2 separate regions of the Homo sapiens genome follow, and region 2 is linked to region 1. The links are contacts of gene promoters, found by promoter capture Hi-C in blood cells and fetal thymus (Javierre and others, 2016). All regions are on one chromosome and are shown on one strand. Each heading gives the region's core, a stretch centred on a gene start or on the middle of the fragment in contact. The rest is flanking DNA. Distances are from core to core; before and after follow the strand shown.

The links. Contacts are between HindIII fragments. The CHiCAGO score rates a contact against its expected background, and 5 or more counts as called.
Region 2: a fragment that was not itself captured here is called in contact with the fragment with the promoter of SLC44A2 in region 1 in 7 of 17 cell types (naive CD8 T cells, naive B cells, total CD8 T cells and 4 more); the score reaches 6.5 in naive CD8 T cells.

Annotation. Positions count from the first base shown.
Region 1 is chr19:10,623,718-10,627,000 of GRCh38, reverse strand. SLC44A2 (solute carrier family 44 member 2 (CTL2 blood group)) reads right to left here and starts at 1,448. Exons shown (of 22, transcript NM_020428.4): 1 at 1,331-1,448; 2 at 700-748. The coding sequence starts at 1,367. RefSeq lists an enhancer at 2,409-2,990. The HindIII fragment of the contact is 23,966 bases long and covers 1-3,283 here.
Region 2 is chr19:10,510,229-10,513,511 of GRCh38, reverse strand. It overlaps S1PR5 (sphingosine-1-phosphate receptor 5), which reads left to right. Exons shown (of 2, transcript NM_030760.5): 2 at 1-770. Among named protein-coding and RNA genes, the nearest start is that of S1PR5, 5.6 kb to the left of the region's middle. The HindIII fragment of the contact is 2,588 bases long and covers 254-2,841 here.

The sequences.
Region 1 (3,283 bases), core at 199-2,698:
CTCGCTCTTGTCCTCCAGGCTGGAGTGCAGTGGCGCAATCTCAGCTTACTGCAACCTCCACCTCCCAGATTCAAGCAATTCTCCTGCCTCAGCCTTCTGAGTAGCCTCTGAGTAGTCACAGCTACTGGAGAGGCTGAGACAGAAGACGTGCTTGAACCAGGAGGGGAAGGTTGCAGTGAGCTGAGATTGCACCACTCCAGCCTGGGTGACAGAGTGAGACTCCATCTCAAAAATAAATAAATAAATAAATAAATATAAACATGGTAAAAATTAAGTCCAGGCCAGGTGTGGTAACTCACACCTGTAATCCCAGCACTTTGGGAGGCCAAGGCAGGTGGATCGCTTTGAGCTCACGAGGTCGAGACCAGCATGGGCAACACAGCGAAACATCTCTGCTAAAAGTACAAAAAAAAAAAAAAATTAGCCAGGTGTGGTGGTGCAAGCCTGTAATCCCAGCTACTTGGGAGACTGAGGTGGGAGAATTGCTCGAACCCGGGAGGCGAAGGTTGCAGTGAGCCGAGATTGAGATCGCGCCACGGCACTCCAGCCTGGTGACAGAGCAAGACTCCATCTCAAAAAAAAAAAAAAGTTTCAAATATTTGTCACCAGTTTGTTGGAGAACAGATGGGAGGGGGTGTGAAGAGACAGGGATTGGGGTAGTATTAGCGGGGAGAACCCCCCAAAACCCAGAGCTCTTACCTATTGTAAATGGGTCCTTTGAAAGTGGGATCATACTTCTGTGGCGTTCCTGAAAGTCAAGAAGATTAAGATGGATGGGATTGGAGACCTGAACCAAGACAGGGCTGGGAGAGCCCCCTCCCAAAAGCCCCTAGGGGTGTCTTTGCCTTGGCAAGAATAAAATTCAGAGACCTGTGGAATTTTCTGCCTCACCCACCTCCAGGTGACCACACCCAAGCCCCCAGTTCTGGCAGGCCAGGACAGGGGAGGAAGGAGGGATCACTAACTGTGAACAAACTTATTAACTGGCGGCCACCCACTGGGAAGAGGGCTGAAATGGTGACCACCACGGAACCAGGTGGAGATGGGGAAGATCTGAGGTGGGATAGGGGGAAGGAGGCGCCGGCAGCAGTGCCAGGCAGAGGGGTACAGGGGCAGGTCCTTCGGGTAGGGGAGAGTAAGGAGGGTCGTCTGCGAGGCTGCGGGGGATAAGTGGGGTGAAGGGGCCTGGCTGATGGTGGGGAGGCTCCAGGCGCAGATTTGCAATTGCGCTCCCCCTCCAGCCCCCTTCCCTGCGCCCCATGTTCTCTCAAGGCCCCCTCCGAGGGACCGAGGGGTCGGCCCGGGGCTACGGGCGGGGGTCGCTGCCTACCGTGTTTCCCGTAGTAGTGGGGCCGCTCGTCCCCCATCCCTGCAGGCGACCAGCCCCGGCGGCCGCCCGCGCTCTCTCCCGCGCCCCCTCGACCCTCCCGAGTCTGGAGGGAGGCACTGACCGCGCGACTGGCGGCGGCTCCTCCCAGCACAGCGCCAGGCGGGGCGGCCCAAACCGGTCAGACCGGCCCGAGCTGGGCAGCTGCCCAGACTAAGGGACCCGGGAGGGCGCGGGCGGGGCTGCAGCTGCTCCCGCCACTCACCGGCCGGCCGCATTTAGCCTTCCCCGCCCCCACCCGGGAACCCTGCGGCTTCACCCTGGGAACACCCTGCCACCGGGCGATGCCGCCTAGAACCCCTGGCCACCCTGAAAGGGCGTTTCCGTGGCTTCGTTTTGCAGGTGTGGAAACTGAGGCACTGGGAGGGAAAACGGCCTACTGCCCAAACCCAGACAACCAACTGTGGAATGTTGGTGCTGAAAACTTCTCCAAGCTGTGCAGGAAATTAGTTTTCTTTCTGTCTGCTGCTTTTTTTTTTTGAGACAGGATCTCCCTCTGTTGCCCAGGCTGGAGTGCAGTGGTGCAATCACAGCTCATCGCAGTCTCGACCTCCCTGCCTCAAGCCATCCTCCTGACTAAGCCTCCTGAGTAGCTGGGACTACAGGTGCTCTACTGCACTCGGCTAATTTTTAATTTTTTTTGTAGAGATGGGATGTTGCTATGTTGCCCAGGCTCATCTTTAACTCCTGGACTCGTGGGCTCCTCCCACCGTGGCCCCCCAAAGTGCTGGGATTACCTGCGTGCACTACTGGGCCTGGTCTTAGAACAAGTATTTATTCAGCCCTTAGTGGGTGCAGGCCTTGGGCGGGGCACCGCATACAGTGAGGAACCAGAGAGACCCAATCTCCACCCTTGTGGAGCCCACATCCTCCTGGGTCGCCCTGAATTCAAATGCTCCTTCTGCACCCTCTGAACTAGAGGATACTTAACAAAGGGCTTATCTTCCTTAAGCCTCAGTTTCCTCAACTGCAAAATGAGGCTAAAGTATGAAACCAAAACTGACCTCAAAGAGCAGGCATAGGCCAGGTGCAGTGGCTCATGCCTGTAATCCCAGCACTCTGGGAGGCTGAGGCAGGTCGATCAGGATTTCTAAGCCAGCCTGGCCAACATGGTGAAACCCCTTCTCTACTAAAAATACAAACATTAGCCAGTGTGGTGGCACATGCCTGTAATCCCAGCTACTTGGGAAGCTGAGGCAGGAGAATCGCTTAAACCCAGGAGGTGGAGGTTGCAGTGAGCCAAGATTGCCTCACTGCACTCCAACCTGGGGGACAGAGTGAGACTCTGTCTCCAAAAAGAAAAAGAAAAAAGAAAATAGGCTGGGTGTGGTGGCTAACACCTATAATCCCAGCACTTTGGGAGGCCGAGGTGGGCGGATCATGAGGTCAAGAGATCGAGACCATCCTGGCCAACTTGGTGAAACCCCGTCTGTACTAAAAATACAAAAATTAGCTGGATGTTGTGGTGTGCACCTGTAGTCCCAGCTACTTGGGAGGCTGAGGCAGGAGAATCACTTCAACCCGAGAGGCGGAGGTTGCAATGAGCCGAGATCGTGCCACTGCACTCCAGCCTGGGTGACAGAGCGAGTGTCTCAAAAAATCAATCAATCAATAAATCAAAAATTAGCCGGGTGTGGTGGTTCATGCCTGTAATCCCAGCACTGTGGGAGGCCGAGGCGGGCAGATCACTGAGGTCAGGAGTTCAAGACCAGCCTGGCCAACAAGGCAAAACCCTGTCTGTACTAAAAATACAAAAATTAGCCAGGTGTGGTGGTGGGCACCTGTAATCCCAGCTACTGGGGAGGCTGAAGTAGGAGAATCGTTTGAACCTGGGAGGTAGAGGTTGCAGTGAGCCGAGATTATGCCACTGTACTCCAGCCTGGGCGACAGAGCGAG
Region 2 (3,283 bases), core at 298-2,797, 110 kb after region 1:
TGAGCTGAGACCTCTGTCCTGGGAAGACCAAAAGAAAAGCATTTCAGGATGAGGGAATGGCATGCGCAAAGGCCCTGAGGCTGAAATGTGCCCATGTGTTCTAAGAAATGCAGCGATGCTGGTGTGCCTGGAGCAGGGACGGAGGGGGAGAATGGGAGGAGACAAGGAGCTGAAGGAGTAGTTCCCGAAGGACCTTGTGGGTGATATAGAGGACTTCGCTTTTGCTCTGAGTGAGGTGGGAGCCATAGAAGCTTCTAAGCAGAAGAGGGACTTGCCCTAATTCAGGTGATCACAGGTGTCTTGTGGCCTCCATGGGAGGTTGAAAACCAGAGAAGGTGAAGGGGGGCTGCACTGAGCCACAGGAACAATGATGGAGATTCCAGCTAAGCCCAGACCCCGTGGATTCTAGATAGATTTTAGAGGCAGCAGACAGAATTACTGAGGAATTGAGTGTAAGAGTGGAATAAAGTTATCAAGGACAATGCCAAGGGTGGGGCACCCCCAAATTTGACTCTGGGAGACTCAGCCAAATCCTATCTGGTAATAAAATTTCTTTTTTATTTTTCTTTTCTTTCTTTCTTTCTTTTTTTTTTTTTTGAGTTGGGATCTTGTGCTCTGTCACCCAGGCTGGAGTGCAATGGGCACAATTATAGCTCACTGCAGCCTGGAACTCCTGGGATCAAGCCTGGAGTTCCTGCTTCAGCCTCCCTAGTAGCTGGGACTACAGGCATGCACCACCATGCCCAGTTAATAAAATTTCTTCAAATGCAGTTTCAGATCCTTCATTAAAAGAAATAATAATAATAGGCTGGGTGCCGTGACTCATGCCTCTAACCCCAGCACTTTGGGAGGCAGAGGTGGGCAGATCACCTGATGTCAGGAGTTTGAGACCAGTTTGGCCAACATGGTGAAACCCCATCTCTACTAAAAATACCAAAATTAGCCAAGTGTGATGGCTTACGCATATAGTTCCAGCTACTCGGGAGGCTGAGGCAGGAGAATCCCTTGAAACTGGGAGGCGGAGGTTGCAAAGAGCTGCACTCCAGCCTGGGTAACAAAGTGAGACTCGGTCTAAAAAAAAAAAAAAAAAAAAAAGGATAACAAAATAAGGCCAGACACAGTGGCTCATGCCTGTAATCCCAACACTTTGGGAGGCTGAGGCAGAAGGATCGATTGAGGCTGGGAGTTTGAGACCAGCCTGGTCAACATAGTGAGACCCCATCTCTACAAAAAATTTTAAAAATTAGGCAGTTGTGGTTACGCATGCCTATAGTCACAGCTACTGGGGAGGCTGAAGAAGGAGGATTTCCAGAACCCAGGAGCTCAGGGGCTGCAGTGAGCTATTTTTGCATAACTGAACTCCAGCCTGTGTGATGAAATCATGTCTTTTAGGAAAACATAAGAGGTTTTTTGGTTTCTCTTTTTTTTTTTTTTTTGAGATGGAGGCTCACTCTATCACCCAGGCTGGAGTGCAGTGGCGCAATCTCGGCTCACTGTAAGCTCCACCTCCCAGGTTCACGCCATTCTCCTGCCTCAGCTTCCCAAGTAGCTGGGACTACAGGTGCCCGCCACCAAGCATGGCTAATTTTTTTGTATTTTTAGTAGAGATGGGGTTTCACAGTGTTAGCCAGGATGGTCTTGATCTCCTGACCTTGTGATCCGCCCACCTCGGCCTCCCAAAGTGCTGGGATAACAGGTGTGAGCCACTGCGCCTGGCCTTTTTTTTTTTTTTGAGATGAAGTCTCACTCCGTCACCAGGCTGGAGTGCAGTGCTGCAATCTTGGCTCACTACAACCTCCGCCTCCTGGGTTCAGGCGATTCTCCTGCCTCAGCCTCCCGAGTAGCTGGGATTACAGGCACCGCCACCACACCTGGCTAGTTTTTGTATTTTTAGTAGAGATGGGGTTTCACATATTGATCAGGCTGGTCTTAAACTCCTGACCTCGTGATCTGCCCGCCTCAGCCTCCCAAAGTGCTGGGATTACAGGTAGAGCCACTGTGCCCGGCCGTTTTTTGGTTTCTTTTTGAGATAGGATCTTGCTCTGTCGCCCAGCCTGGAGTACACTGGCATAATCCCAGCTCACTGCAGCCTCAAGTGATCCTCCTGAACTCCTGTGCTCAAGTGATCCTCTTGCCTCAGCCCCCAACCCGAGTAGCTGGGGCTACTGGAGCACCACACCAAACATGTTTTGAATTTTTTTTTAGAGATGATTTCTCACCACGTTGCCCAGGCTGGTCTCAAACTCCTGGGCTCAAGCAACCCACCTTGGCCTCCCAAAGTGCTGGGATAAAGGCCAGGCACGGTGACTCACACCTGTAATCCCAGCACTTTGGGAAGCCGAGGCAGGCGGATCTCTAGAGGTCAGGAGCTCGAGACCAGCCTGGCCAACATGGTGAAACTCCGCCTCTAATAAAAATACAAAAAAAAAAAAAAAAATTAGCCGGGCATGGTGCCGCGCGCCTGTAGTCCGAGCTACTCGGGAGGCTGAGGAGGGAGAATCACTTGAACCCAGGAGGCTGGAGGTTGCAGTAAGTTGAGATCGCGCCACTGCACTCCAGCCTGGGCGACCGAGCAAGACTCCATCTCAGAAAACAAAATAACAATAACAACAACAACAACAACAACGAAGTGCTGGGATACAGGTGTGAGCCTCCACACCCGGCCTAAAGTAAGAGTTCATTTTGTCTGGCTAGTTTTCTGCACAGTTCTGGGACACACCTATTTTTCAGCCTTATAGCAACTTTGCAAGGTAGGTTTCCTAATCCCCATTAGACAGATGAGGAAATTCCAGACAGTGACTACCTTGTCTCAGTGTCTGAGCCAGGACATTAGCTTAAGCTTCAGGCCCCAGGAGGCACTGGCTTGGTATCTGACCCCTCCAGATGGGTCTGGCAAGGCTATGCCAACAGTCCCTCCCACGGGGGTCTGCATTCATGGTTGGAACGATGCCAGGGCGCCGTTTGTGCCCATAAAAGGCTCCAGACGTGCTGGCCCCTGCCCCCGGCATGTCCCCAGGCGCATTCTTGACCCCTGAACGGCTGGATGGGCCCTGGGGCCGGGTTGGGGGGCGTCTGGCTTCGGGTTCAGACTGCAGCGCTCCACCTTCCGGGAAACCTTGGAACTGCAGGCAACCTCAAAAAAAGCGGTGTTTTGGGGACAGGTGTCCCAGACTGGGGGGACCCCAAGTCCCTGCTGGCCACGTTCAGAGTGCCCCTGGAGGCCACACACACGGGAAACCAACCAGTTGGAACACAGGCACACTTGCTTATGAGTTTTCTAGAA